Regions from separate parts of the Homo sapiens genome. Here regions 1, 2 and 3 are each linked to region 4. The links are contacts of gene promoters, found by promoter capture Hi-C in blood cells and fetal thymus (Javierre and others, 2016). All regions are on one chromosome and are shown on one strand. The core of a region is centred on a gene start or on the middle of the fragment in contact, and the rest is flanking DNA. Distances in the headings are between cores, read along the strand shown. Region 1 overlaps EXOSC3 (exosome component 3). Region 2 has its middle 41 kb from the start of ZCCHC7. Region 3 overlaps PAX5 (paired box 5). Region 4 holds the start of POLR1E (RNA polymerase I subunit E).

Region 1 (2,700 bases), core at 6-2,505, 300 kb before region 4:
TGAAGTGATTTTCTTTTACCGAAAGTGGCATTTGATCAGATTTCTCTTTAATGACAATAAAGTAACCACAAAGGACTTGCTGAAGGTATCTTCCAATGGTATCTTGTCATTTATGGCTGTTTTTTCATTCTGTTTCTTTTTGTAGTATGTTCCAGTAAAAGGAGACCATGTGATTGGCATAGTGACAGCTAAATCTGGAGATATATTCAAAGTTGATGTTGGAGGGAGTGAGCCAGCTTCTTTGTCTTACTTGTCATTTGAAGGTGCAACTAAAAGAAACAGACCAAATGTGCAGGTAATTACGGGAGCCTTTGGTTTCAAAGAAACAAACATCCATTCCCTAGAACACTCACATATCCAGAAGGCTATCTGAATTGTCTCCAAAGCATGACCTAGATCTCTGAGCTTGTATATAATTGCCCCAGGCTCCAAGAGTTTCTTCAGATGCTCCAGGATCAGAGCCACATAATTATTATTATTATTTTTTACATTTACAATTTATTTTACATTGGCTACATTTGTTCTTGGGATGTTTCATTTCTACTGAGTTGAAAGGTTGTATCTATCATCGCCATTATTTGTTATGTCCATATCCTCTGGACAAGGATGTCTGCTGTAGGCTTAGAGGAGGGACAGGTGGTGCAAATTGACATTATCAGCTATCCATCCATCCTGGCTGTAGGTCCTAGGAGCTGATAGAGGAGTAATATTGTTACCTTGGGTTTTCAATTTGAGCTTTTCAGGTAGCATAGCCACACTCTTCTTGTCTATCCAGCCTGAAATTTAGTGATTTCTTCACCTCTTCTCATTCACTTCTCATGCAAATTTAGTTGCTTAATCCTATTTTGATCCTATTTGATTCTGTCTCTGATCTTTGGCATGTCCGTCCCTTTATCTCCACAAGTTCAGGCTTCAGCTCCCTCTTGACTGGTCTCAGTCACTTCTTCATTAATCCCTGCCTCCACGCTTTTACCTCACCATCCAGGATTTTGAGAGCTGACATCCTCACACGGTCACTTTCTCGAAAAGACAAGATTCTCCAAAATCTACAGAATTCCTTGGCATTACACTCCAGGTGTCTTTCCTCATCCCTAATTATATCCTTCATACAGCCATACTCAAATCACACCAAACGCCATTAAACTCAATTTCCTGCCCTTATTTGCACATGCTGTTCCCACTGTCTTGATTGCACTATCCCTTCGCACCCTATGGAACACATTCTCATTCTTTGAGACGTAGGCTAAACATGACCACCTCTGTAAAGCCATCTCTAGTTGCCACTTTTCTCGTATCTTTGCTCTAGCACTTACTGGATTGAGCCTTGACTGAGGTTTGTTTATATGTACCTCCCCACTGCCCTCCAAGACCAAATGCTTCTGAAAAGCAGAGAATGTTTTGTTCCTTTCTAGTTTACATAGTCACCAACAAACAGTAGGTACTTAATACGTTTTGTTGAGTGAACAGAATGAGTTCACTCTCCATTTCCTCAGTTTCGTCCCTTTGAAGTTTAGCTCTATGAGGTTTTTAAGTAAATCCTGCAGGGAGAAGTGTCAGTGAATTATTGTTTGATTTTGCTTTGAATAATTTGCATGCCGGAGTTCCTTCCTTTCTCTGTAAATCTGTAATTCTCTAGGGTAGTGCGACCTAATATAACTTTCTACAGTGATGCTGTTTTGTATCTGCACTGATTAGTATGGTAGCCACTAGCTGTTGAGCACTTGAAATGTGGCTAATGCAACTCAGGAAATTAATTTTAAATACCTAATTTTAATTTAAATGTAAGTTTAAACAATTGGCTATCTACCATATTGGACAGTGCAATCCTAGTGTTCTCTGGCCTTGAGATGGCTCCTCGTCTGTGATTTCCTGATTGGTGAAAGGGAATGATACATGTGTTCCTTTTTTTCCCCAAGACTCAACTCCAAAGTGACTGTGGGAATCCTATAGTGCAGTCAGTCCCTTAGCCACAGAACTGTAGGTGGCTGGCATTGATGCCTGTGAGAAAGAACCAATAGTAGCACCTGTAGTTTGCTGAGAGGAAATGAACTGGTTTTTAATATCATTGTAGGTTGGAGATCTCATCTATGGCCAGTTTGTGGTTGCTAATAAAGACATGGAACCAGAGATGGTCTGTATTGACAGCTGTGGACGAGCCAATGGAATGGGTGTCATTGGACAGGATGGTCTGCTTTTTAAAGTGACTCTGGGCTTAATTAGAAAGTAAGTCCTGATGTCTGCTGGCTTGACTGCTTTTTATAATTATACATTCTTGGAAAGTTGGTTAATCTTCAGGATTCAGATTCTTTGTAACGTTTGAATTTCTCCTCAGAGTTAGAAATCAGTATCCATTTTAACACATTTGGAAACTCATGAATTTAATCCTATCTTCTTGGAAACATATCAAATTCAGATGTGTTTGGCTGTGTAGTTTCTGGTGGGCTGATACTTCATGCCTTAAGCTCTTACTCTGTATTCATATCTTCCTTCCCAGGCCTGTTGCTTATTTGACTTAGCCCAAATGTGAAAACTGGCCTTTCCCCTGTTCTGAGTCACTTGAATACAGATGCAGTCTGCAGTTGTATAAAATTATCAATTTTTTCTAATTATGGGGGTCACACGCAGCTTAGATTGTGATGTTCAAGGTTATGTAGACATTCACAGAAGGCTTCTGACACTTGGTCATACTGAGGCATACTG
Region 2 (2,736 bases), core at 152-2,651, 410 kb after region 4:
CCTCCTGATTCCCAGCCACAGCTTTTCCACCGAACCGGCAGCTCTTCCCAAAAGTTGAAGGCAACTGTCCGCTCACCGTCCAAGACTACTCGTTTTACATGAGGAAAGGGTCACAGCTCCCGAAATTTTGGATTCCACGGCGGCAGCTGCTGCTTCTGACAGCAGAGGCGGGAGGTGGCCCAGGACTACTCGGTCCTCAAAGACTGGACTCTCTCTCGGCGCGCCCGGACCTCCGCGCTTCACTGACTGGCTTCCCTAGAAGACTGGGGGCCTTGCGGGGAGATAAAAAGGGCAGACACGCCACCCCCACCGAGGCCCTGGACGCCCAGCCGCCCTAGAATCACGACCTTAGCCCTTGGAAAGCCAGGGAGATGCGGACCCCCTAGACCCGCAGCCCGGCCGCGTGGGGCGGCGCGCAGCTGAGGGACCAGGAGCTGCGCCCCACCACAAGTGAGGGGCGGACCGGAGACGCCGAGGTCGGCGAGGGGGCACGCGCTAGTTCCACAGCTCGGCTGGCGAGACGGAGGGTAGGCAGGGGTCCCAGGCCGCGGGTGACTCGGGGTCCGTCACATACATACTCACTGCCGTAGCTGCAAACAGAAAGCACCAAACAGGGACCAAAACGCGTAGAGGGACGGGGAGGGGCGAGGACAAATGAGGTAAGGAGGCCGCGTCCGCGCAGACCCGGGAGGAGAGAAGGCACTTCCGGGACAACACAGCCCTAGGCGTCGCCTTCTGTGTCCGCCCACCTGTCGCGCCTGGTATGCGCATGCGTACTAAGTGCGAACCTTTCTCTGCCCCGCCCATAATCTTTAGATTTGCCTTCCATGCTTTGCCCCTTCCCCTTCCCATCTTCTCTTGAAGTTACCTAGATTGCGTCTATTATTTGAATGACTCGTACAAAAGAGATGCTATTTATCGGGCAAAAGCCGGGAGTTCGTGCCCTCTACGCCCGCAAGGAAAACTACAACTCCCATGAGGACACGGGTGAGATTGAGGCCGGGCTCCGCCTCCTTCTCCCTGGAGCTTGGTGGACGCCTTCCCAGTGCCACGTGGCGGGGAGCTGATCTGATCGCGGGCGTGACGACGGCCCGCACGGCTAGCTGCTTGGCCCGCGGGCCTGGGCAGCCCTGGAGCGGGAAACGCCTCCGTGAGAACGCATGGCTTCAAGCTTCTCCCTTGCGCTCCTGATCTTAGGCTGATCGCTTTTACCTTTAGGTTGAAGTTGAACACAGTTCACACTGTGCTCTTCCTCCCCCTCTTTCTGGAATTCCAGGCAACAGATTTAACACTTTATGAATCTTGAAGAGCTGCACTCCTCCTAAATATTGCAGTTAATGCTGATCCTTTGGAAGCCTCCGAAGGCCACAAGGCTGTGATGGGAGCCTCTGGCTTCAGTTGCCTTTCTCACACCTTATTTTAATACTCAAGGTAAACCCTTCTGTACAACTTTAGAAATAACTGTCAACCTAAAGGAAAAACGGAGGCAAAGTTAATATAAATAGAGAATTTATTTGGGCCAAGTCTCAAGAATGCAAACTGGGAGCATCACTTCAAGTTACCCTTAATTTAATACATGATCTTAGCAGCAGTTTCAAGTGAGTTCTTTGTTTTGTTGGCCAGGAAGCTTGAACTCTTGTCTCAAAGGAATTGATCCTTCCATCTCTGCCTCCCAAAGTACTGGGATTACAGGTGTGGGCGACTGCACCCGGCTACAAGTGAATTTTTAAAGGAAAAAAAAAGAAGAGGCCCTTGCTAAATTGTATTCCAAGAATTTACATTAAAATAACAACCTATCCATTGGCTATACTTGTTCTTTCTATCACGGATTCTGGGAACACGAAGATAAAGGGTGATGCTTGTACAGGGCAGAAAAGAACAAAGTGCCTTTAAACAATTGCTAGTGTACATGGGGATGGTGCTAACTGACATCTCATACTCAGGTCTCTCTGGGTCTGATAAATTTTGAATGCCTGGCCGGGCTGGTGGGGTTGCTCACACTCGTAATCTCAGCATTTTGGGAGCCTAAGGGGGAAGGATCTCTTAAGGCCAAGAATTCGAAACCAGCCTCGGTAATATACCAACAGGCTATCTCTTAAAAAATTTTAAAAATTAGCCAGGCACGGTGATGCATCATGCAACCGTGCTCCATCCTGGGTGACAGACTGAGATCCTGTCTCAAAAAATAAGATAAAGAATAAATCTCCTTTTTATAAAATCTTTTTATAAAAATTAAATAAAAATTAAAATTTTTAAATAATTCAAATTTTAAATATTAGCTAGGTGTGATGGGGCACGCCTGTAGCTCTAGTTACTCAGGAGGCTGGGGCGGGAGGATTGCTTGAGCCTGGAAGTTCAAGGTCACTGTGAGCTGTGATTACACCACTGCACTCCAGCCTGGATAAGAGACCCCATAACTTTAATTAAAAAAAAATGGGGGACTGGGCACGGTGGCTCATGGCTGTAATCCCAGCACTTTGGGAGGGTGAGGTGGGAGGATCACTTGAGTCCAGGAGTTCAAGACCAGCCTGGGCAACATAGTGAGACCCCATCTCTATTTCTTAAATTAGTAAATACAAATACAAATAAATTGTTTTGTTCTGTGAGTTACCAGGAATGTAAAAAAGATTAAAATAAAATAAATTGTTGCATACTTTTAATATAGCGTAGACTGCTCTATTTTTCTCCTGTCATAATGAAACACTTTGCCAGTTCATTGGCCCCTCTAAATTCTCC
Region 3 (2,700 bases), core at 107-2,606, 460 kb after region 4:
GGCTTTGAAAAATCAAGGAAGTAGCGGTTTCTGAGTTCAGCTTCTGCTTAGGAGCCGGCCAGTTCATACAGAGACCCTTAAAGACCCCATTGGGTCCTTCTCTGCAGGACGCCTTTTCTCATGGCTTCTCCCCTTTAAAAAAAGAGGATAAGAAACGAAAAAGAAAGAAAGAAAGAGGAAGCCAATTAGTTACCACGCAGGCACCCCCGCCTCTGAAAGACGCAGCGTGTGTAGGAGACGGGAAGGGTCATTTAGGGCGAGGGCAAGGCCGGCCTGGCTGCCTGGCCCGCAGGGATCCTGCCAATTCACCCATTACCACAGCCTCCTGTGAGATGAGCGCTCCTCTCACGGTGAGTTAACGCCGGATTAGATTCGGAGATTTCAAGGAAATTCCAAGTGGAACGAATCGCGTTTCCTTTCTGTTTGCTGCAGAGCCAGGCTGGAGGAAGGTGACAGGCTTCGGCAGCCTCGGCTCGGGTGCCGCTCGGGGTCTCTGCGGGCTTCAGGTCAGGGAGTTGCTCCCGGGCTAGGAGCCGTCCCCATGCCTGGTCCTCCCACCCCGCTCCCCCCCATCCCAACAGCCTGGGATCCAGCTTTCCTAGCCGCAGGTCCCCTATTTAACAAAGGCAGCAGAGACCCGGCTGGAGTGAAGGTGAGCTTCCCGGGGCGAGCATGTCCGTGTCTGCCACGCAGTGCTGAGTGGCCTGGCAAGCAGGGGAAAGCTTGTGTAGGCAGCCAGGGCTGGCTGCGGGCAGGTCAGTTTCTCTTTGTGTCAATTTTCTGAGTCTGAAGTAATCCACCAAAGCGGTGGGGAGCTCTGTGCAGAGGAGCCCCCTGTTCTGGTCCCAGCCCAAACGATTCCTCAAGGTTTGGGGCCTGCGCCCAACCGGTTTCCAGTCTGTGGTGACCCCAGTGCCCTCCACAGCCTTTTCTGCCTCGGACTCCAGCCTGGCTCTGGGGAGGACCTGATCTTGCAATGTAAGCCCAAAACAAACCAGTTAGGGCAATGCTCTGAGAGGTGAGCAAGCCCTTGGCTCAGCCAAGGAGCAACTGTGGGGACAGATGGGGAGCACCAGCCCCTGCACTTCTCTCCTCACTGGTGGAAATCCACAGGCCCTCACTGTGTCCTTCCGCCCAGCGCTCGGTGGCCCAGAGGTTGTGCCCTAGCCCTTGGGGAGATAGCATCAGACCTGGTGGTCTCTCGGCTGAGCATCAGTGTGGAGAAGGCGGCTTCTTTCAGGTGCAGGTTAGCCAACCGCTAATGTCTGTGCCTCCTTGTCCGGCCTTCAATCGCCCCCTCCGTGGGAAGTGCTCCCTCCCATTTTCAATCTCCCTGGCAGCACAGTGGGGGCTGGGCCCCAGCCAGTCTAGCTTCCAGAGCAGGTGCAAGACCTTGGCTTCTCTGGAAGCACTCTCGGTTCTGAGGCCCAAAGCTGTTTTCTTGCACAATGTAGGCCTGCTCTGGGGCCCCAACTTGCTAGCAATGGGGAGTGGGGGGTACAGTAGATCCTGGAAGGTGGCTGAGGTAGTAGAGGCTCAGATCAAGTCCCACTTCGTCACCTTCCTCCTGGCCCAGTCAGTTTCTTCTTCCTGTTACCGCTCCCTGCCTCCGTCCCCCTACCACTGCTTCCCCCCACCACTGCTTCAGAGCCGGATAGCTTCTTTGGAGAGGAGCAGGGACTTCCAGGAAATGGGCTTCTGAGTTTGGAGGAGTCCCCACCCACTATTCCAGGCTCATCATTTTCATCAGCACGATAACCTCCTGCTCTCTTCCTGAGCGGTTCCCCTAGGTATCTTTACCAGTTATAAAACACTCATAGCCAGGGTCCTACCTGACGGTGGCCTAAACCTTCAGCTTCACCCATTTTGCAGAATATGATATTGAGGTCAGAGAGACAAAAGGACTGACTCAAGAAGTTCACATTGGCACAGCTGGAGCTGGTTCTTGGGTCTCCCTGACCATCTGACAAAGGCATTAAAATGAAGCTTCAGAGGGTTCACAGAAGGGGAGAGGGAGGGACTCAGATTCCAGAGAGAGGGCAGTGGGTATACACATATGCAAAGCTCTCTCTCTGTCTAGTCTAACCATGTATATGTCTACTGCCTGACTCTCCACATGTATCAATACCATTAGGGAGACTTCTTCCCTGCCCTTTCCCTGTGCCCCTGTTTGCCTGTCTGTGTACCCCTTCATTCTTTCTGGTGCATCTAGGAAAAATTTTAATGATCTTGTGGGGGTCCTGGAGCTCAATCTGTGGCTGAGTCAGCAAAGTCCCTTTCCCCAAAATCCTATGCTCAGCCATGGTCTTTGGGGGTATTGGGAGGGCCTGTGGTGGGTAGCATGACCTTATCAGGGCCTGAGGAGCATCTGTGGAGGCCAGCCCTTTCCATACCAGAGTCACAAAGGCCTCAGGGGCCTCTGCAATTCAGTCTTTCTCTCCTCACTCCCCTCCAAACACTGCCCAGTCTGCCCTGTCCTGTGGTCTGTCTTTTTCTTGTATCTGTGGGTCTGTTTCCTGGTCTTCACCTGATTTGTTTGCCTCTGTCTCTGTGTCAGTCCCCCTTTCACGGGATGAGTCCTCACCTAACTGGAGTCCATAGGAAGTACAGGCTGGGACTTGGGTTCTCCAAGAAGATGCAGGGCCAGAGCTGGCACCCCAGAAAACAAAGGTCCTCTGTCTAGAGAAGTCCCCTGTCCTC
Region 4 (2,802 bases), core at 124-2,623:
CTCCCACTGAGCTCACTCTGCCCTGTACTCTTCCCCACGTGGCCTCAGAGCTTTGTGTAAAAGTGTCCCTCACAGCCAGTTCTCATCTCTCTAGAGCAGAGGTTCTCAATCCAGGGAAATCCACTCTGGTGCTACTGGCATCTAATGAGTAGAGACTAGGGATGCTGCCCCCACAGCAAAGAATTATTGGCCCAAAAAGTCAATAGTCCTGAGGTTGAGAAACCCTGCTCTAGAGTATGAACTCTGAGTGGGGCTAGGCCTGATTTGGCTGTTTTCCTAGAAGCTTGCAGCACAGGGATGCAGAGGGGCAGGTTCCATAAATGCTTGTTGAAAGAACAAATGAATGAAAGATGGAGCCTGTCCCCACATCCCAGGCTGCTGGGCATCAGAGTTCTTCAAAGCTCCATTTGCTACTACTCCCCTTTTTCTCCCCTCACTCCCTCCCACATCCACCCACTCCCAGGGGCCTTCTGAGCCCTGCAGAGTGGAGACAGCTGGCAACTGCTTCACTTACCAGGATCCGTTGATTCCTCTTCCTGGGGTTGGTGGAATCTTTGTTCTCATACAAGGTAAAGCGCATGTTGCCTGGACTCTGTAGCTTCCCGTTGGAGAACTGGACTGTAAGAGTGCAGCCCAAGAATGAGATGAGAGCAGAAGGCCACACAATGTACCACACAATGTACGGTGGGACTAGACTGTCACTGGGAGGGAGTGTCAGAATGGGGATGGCAAGGAAGCTCGGGTCCTGACCCAAAGGGAACTGGAGGAGATCCGGGGCCAGCTGAGAAGAGGAGGTAGGGAGGTGGGAGAACCCTGGGGAGGGGCTGTGACAGGAGGGAATGTCTCGCGGAAGGAGGCTGACAGCAGAGGCCTGGTACATACCTAAAGTGACAGAAGGAACCCCTGCCCAGTGAAGAGAGGGAAATGGGGGAGGCGGGAGACCTGGTGGGTGAGGGGGTCAGCAGGGTCCTGGACACAGCTCTGGGGAGCGGGTGAGTGGGATGTCCCAATCTGGCTGGGAGGTAGTGACAGAAAGACGGACAGGGGAGCCCTGACAGAGCCCAGGGGAGTGGTGGAGACTAGAGGGGTCCCGGCCCCGCTGGGGAGAAGCCCAACGGAGGGCGAGAGGACAGCTGAGGTACCGAGACGGAAGGGGAGAGGGTTAGAGGAGCACTGCTCCAGCTCCGCAGTCTTTACCCAGTACAGCTCTCTGGCTCCCGTCGGGCGCCCCACAATACTGCCACCTCGCACTCGGCAACACCTCCGCCGCCATCTCGCCTGTCTGTCCGCCAAGCACAGGAGTTAAGACAGCAGCAGCCACAAGCGCACTTTTAAACACGCGGGAGCCCAGGCCGCGCTGCGGGCCGGAAAAGGCGTGGCCCCGCCGGGCACCGCCCACAGCGCGCGAGCCGCGTGTCCCCGCCCCCCGCGTAGAGAGGCGTGGTCTCCGCCCACAAGGTGCCACACACCCGCTTGACTGGCCGAGGCGCAGCACCTGATTGGCTCAGCGCTCGCGTGCACTCTGGGTTTTGTAGGTCCAGAGCCCGAGGCGCCAAAGGCTTCAGCCTAAGCTTGCTATGAGCCTTCTTCCGGCTCAGCACCTTCTAAAGAGAGTGTCGTCTCTCTCTCCTACCGTGACAAACTCATCTTCCCAAGACCTGAAGGACCAAGTTCAAATTTAGAATTCTCTGACAGGAACTGCTTGAGCCCCAACTAAATGTGGCCGCTGGCGAATAGCCGCCCCTCTCTAGGGCTTCCCACCCACCCACGTGGACATCCAGCTCTAGGTACAAACTTTGTCCACAGTCCGACAAACAGCTCCCCGCCATGGGCTGTGGCGTGCACACCTGTGGCCCAATCAACACTGAGGTGATGGAACAGAAGCCCAGCCAACCCCGGAGCCTTTGGGCAGGAGATTCTGGACTGGAATAGAAGAGGGAGTCCGAGCTGATGGACATGTCCCTTTTTCACTGCGGATTCAACCCTTCTTCTGCACGGGGAGTTTTCAGAGCAGAAAGAAGGCGAAAGCAGGGCCTTTAAGCATGGACGCTGGCCGAGGCCCCCTTTGCCCAAAGATGCGTACTATTGAAGGGCAAGAACTCCGGTTGACTCCCCTCTGTCTTCCAAATCACCTTCTTTCAAGACTCTTTTCCTTCCACACACCCTCAACACCCGCCTCCAACACCCAGGATCCTAGGAATAACCCTAAAGCCTGCATGCCCCTTTGCCTGAGCACTTGTCACGCTTTTCTAATTACCCAATCTCAAACGTAAAGAAACACTGCAAGAAATGTTTTTGCCCTGAACCATTTAGAGTAAGTTGTCAACCTGATACCCTTTCAACCCTGAAGACTATAGTATTTCCTACAGACATTCCCTAAATAACAACACAGCCATCAGAATCAGCAAATTGCCGGGCGCAGTGGTTCACGCCTGCAATCCCAGCACTTTGGGAGGGAGAGGCAGTTCTATCCCTTGATTCCAGGAGTTTGAGACCAGGCTGGGCAACATAACAAGACCCTGTCTCTACAAAAAATAATATTAGCCATGTGTGGTGGCGCACGCGTGTCGTCCCAGCTACTCGGGAGGCTGAGGTGGGAGGATTGCTTGAGCCTAGGAGGCAGAGGCTGCAGTGAGCTGTGATGGTGCCACTGCACTCTAGCCTGGGCGACAAAAAAAAAAAAAAAAATTAAACAGAAAAGAATCAGGAAATTAGCACTGGTACATTACCACCATGTAATCCTCACATCCCATTTAAGTTCACCCATTGTCCCAACGTTTGTTGTTAGTTTGTTTTTTGAGA

Evidence for each region. Contacts are between HindIII fragments. The CHiCAGO score rates a contact against its expected background, and 5 or more counts as called.
Region 1: a fragment that was not itself captured here is called in contact with the fragment with the promoter of POLR1E in region 4 in 1 of 17 cell types (erythroblasts); the score reaches 5.6 in erythroblasts.
Region 2: a contact is called between a fragment that was not itself captured here and the fragment with the promoter of POLR1E in region 4, in 2 of 17 cell types (fetal thymus and activated CD4 T cells). The highest score is 8.8, in fetal thymus.
Region 3: a fragment that was not itself captured here is called in contact with the fragment with the promoter of POLR1E in region 4 in 1 of 17 cell types (naive CD8 T cells); the score reaches 5.1 in naive CD8 T cells.

The regions. Positions count from the first base shown.
Region 1 is chr9:37,781,509-37,784,208 of GRCh38, reverse strand. It overlaps EXOSC3 (exosome component 3), which reads left to right. Exons shown (of 4, transcript NM_016042.4): 2 at 146-295; 3 at 2,072-2,223. Among named protein-coding and RNA genes, the nearest start is that of EXOSC3, 2.2 kb to the left of the region's middle. The HindIII fragment of the contact is 4,430 bases long and covers 1-2,700 here.
Region 2 is chr9:37,077,877-37,080,612 of GRCh38, reverse strand. It overlaps the pseudogene EBLN3P. Among named protein-coding and RNA genes, the nearest start is that of ZCCHC7, 41 kb to the left of the region's middle. RefSeq lists an enhancer at 533-1,012. The HindIII fragment of the contact is 456 bases long and covers 1,174-1,629 here.
Region 3 is chr9:37,023,294-37,025,993 of GRCh38, reverse strand. All of the region lies in intron 1 of PAX5 (paired box 5), which reads left to right. Among named protein-coding and RNA genes, the nearest start is that of PAX5, 9.6 kb to the left of the region's middle. RefSeq lists an enhancer at 937-1,206. The HindIII fragment of the contact is 1,264 bases long and covers 725-1,988 here.
Region 4 is chr9:37,484,519-37,487,320 of GRCh38, reverse strand. It overlaps POLR1E (RNA polymerase I subunit E), which reads right to left and starts at 1,373. Exons shown (of 12, transcript NM_022490.4): 1 at 1,198-1,373; 2 at 515-618. The coding sequence starts at 1,273. RefSeq lists a silencer at 1,246-1,575 and an enhancer at 1,317-1,908. The HindIII fragment of the contact is 1,288 bases long and covers 286-1,573 here.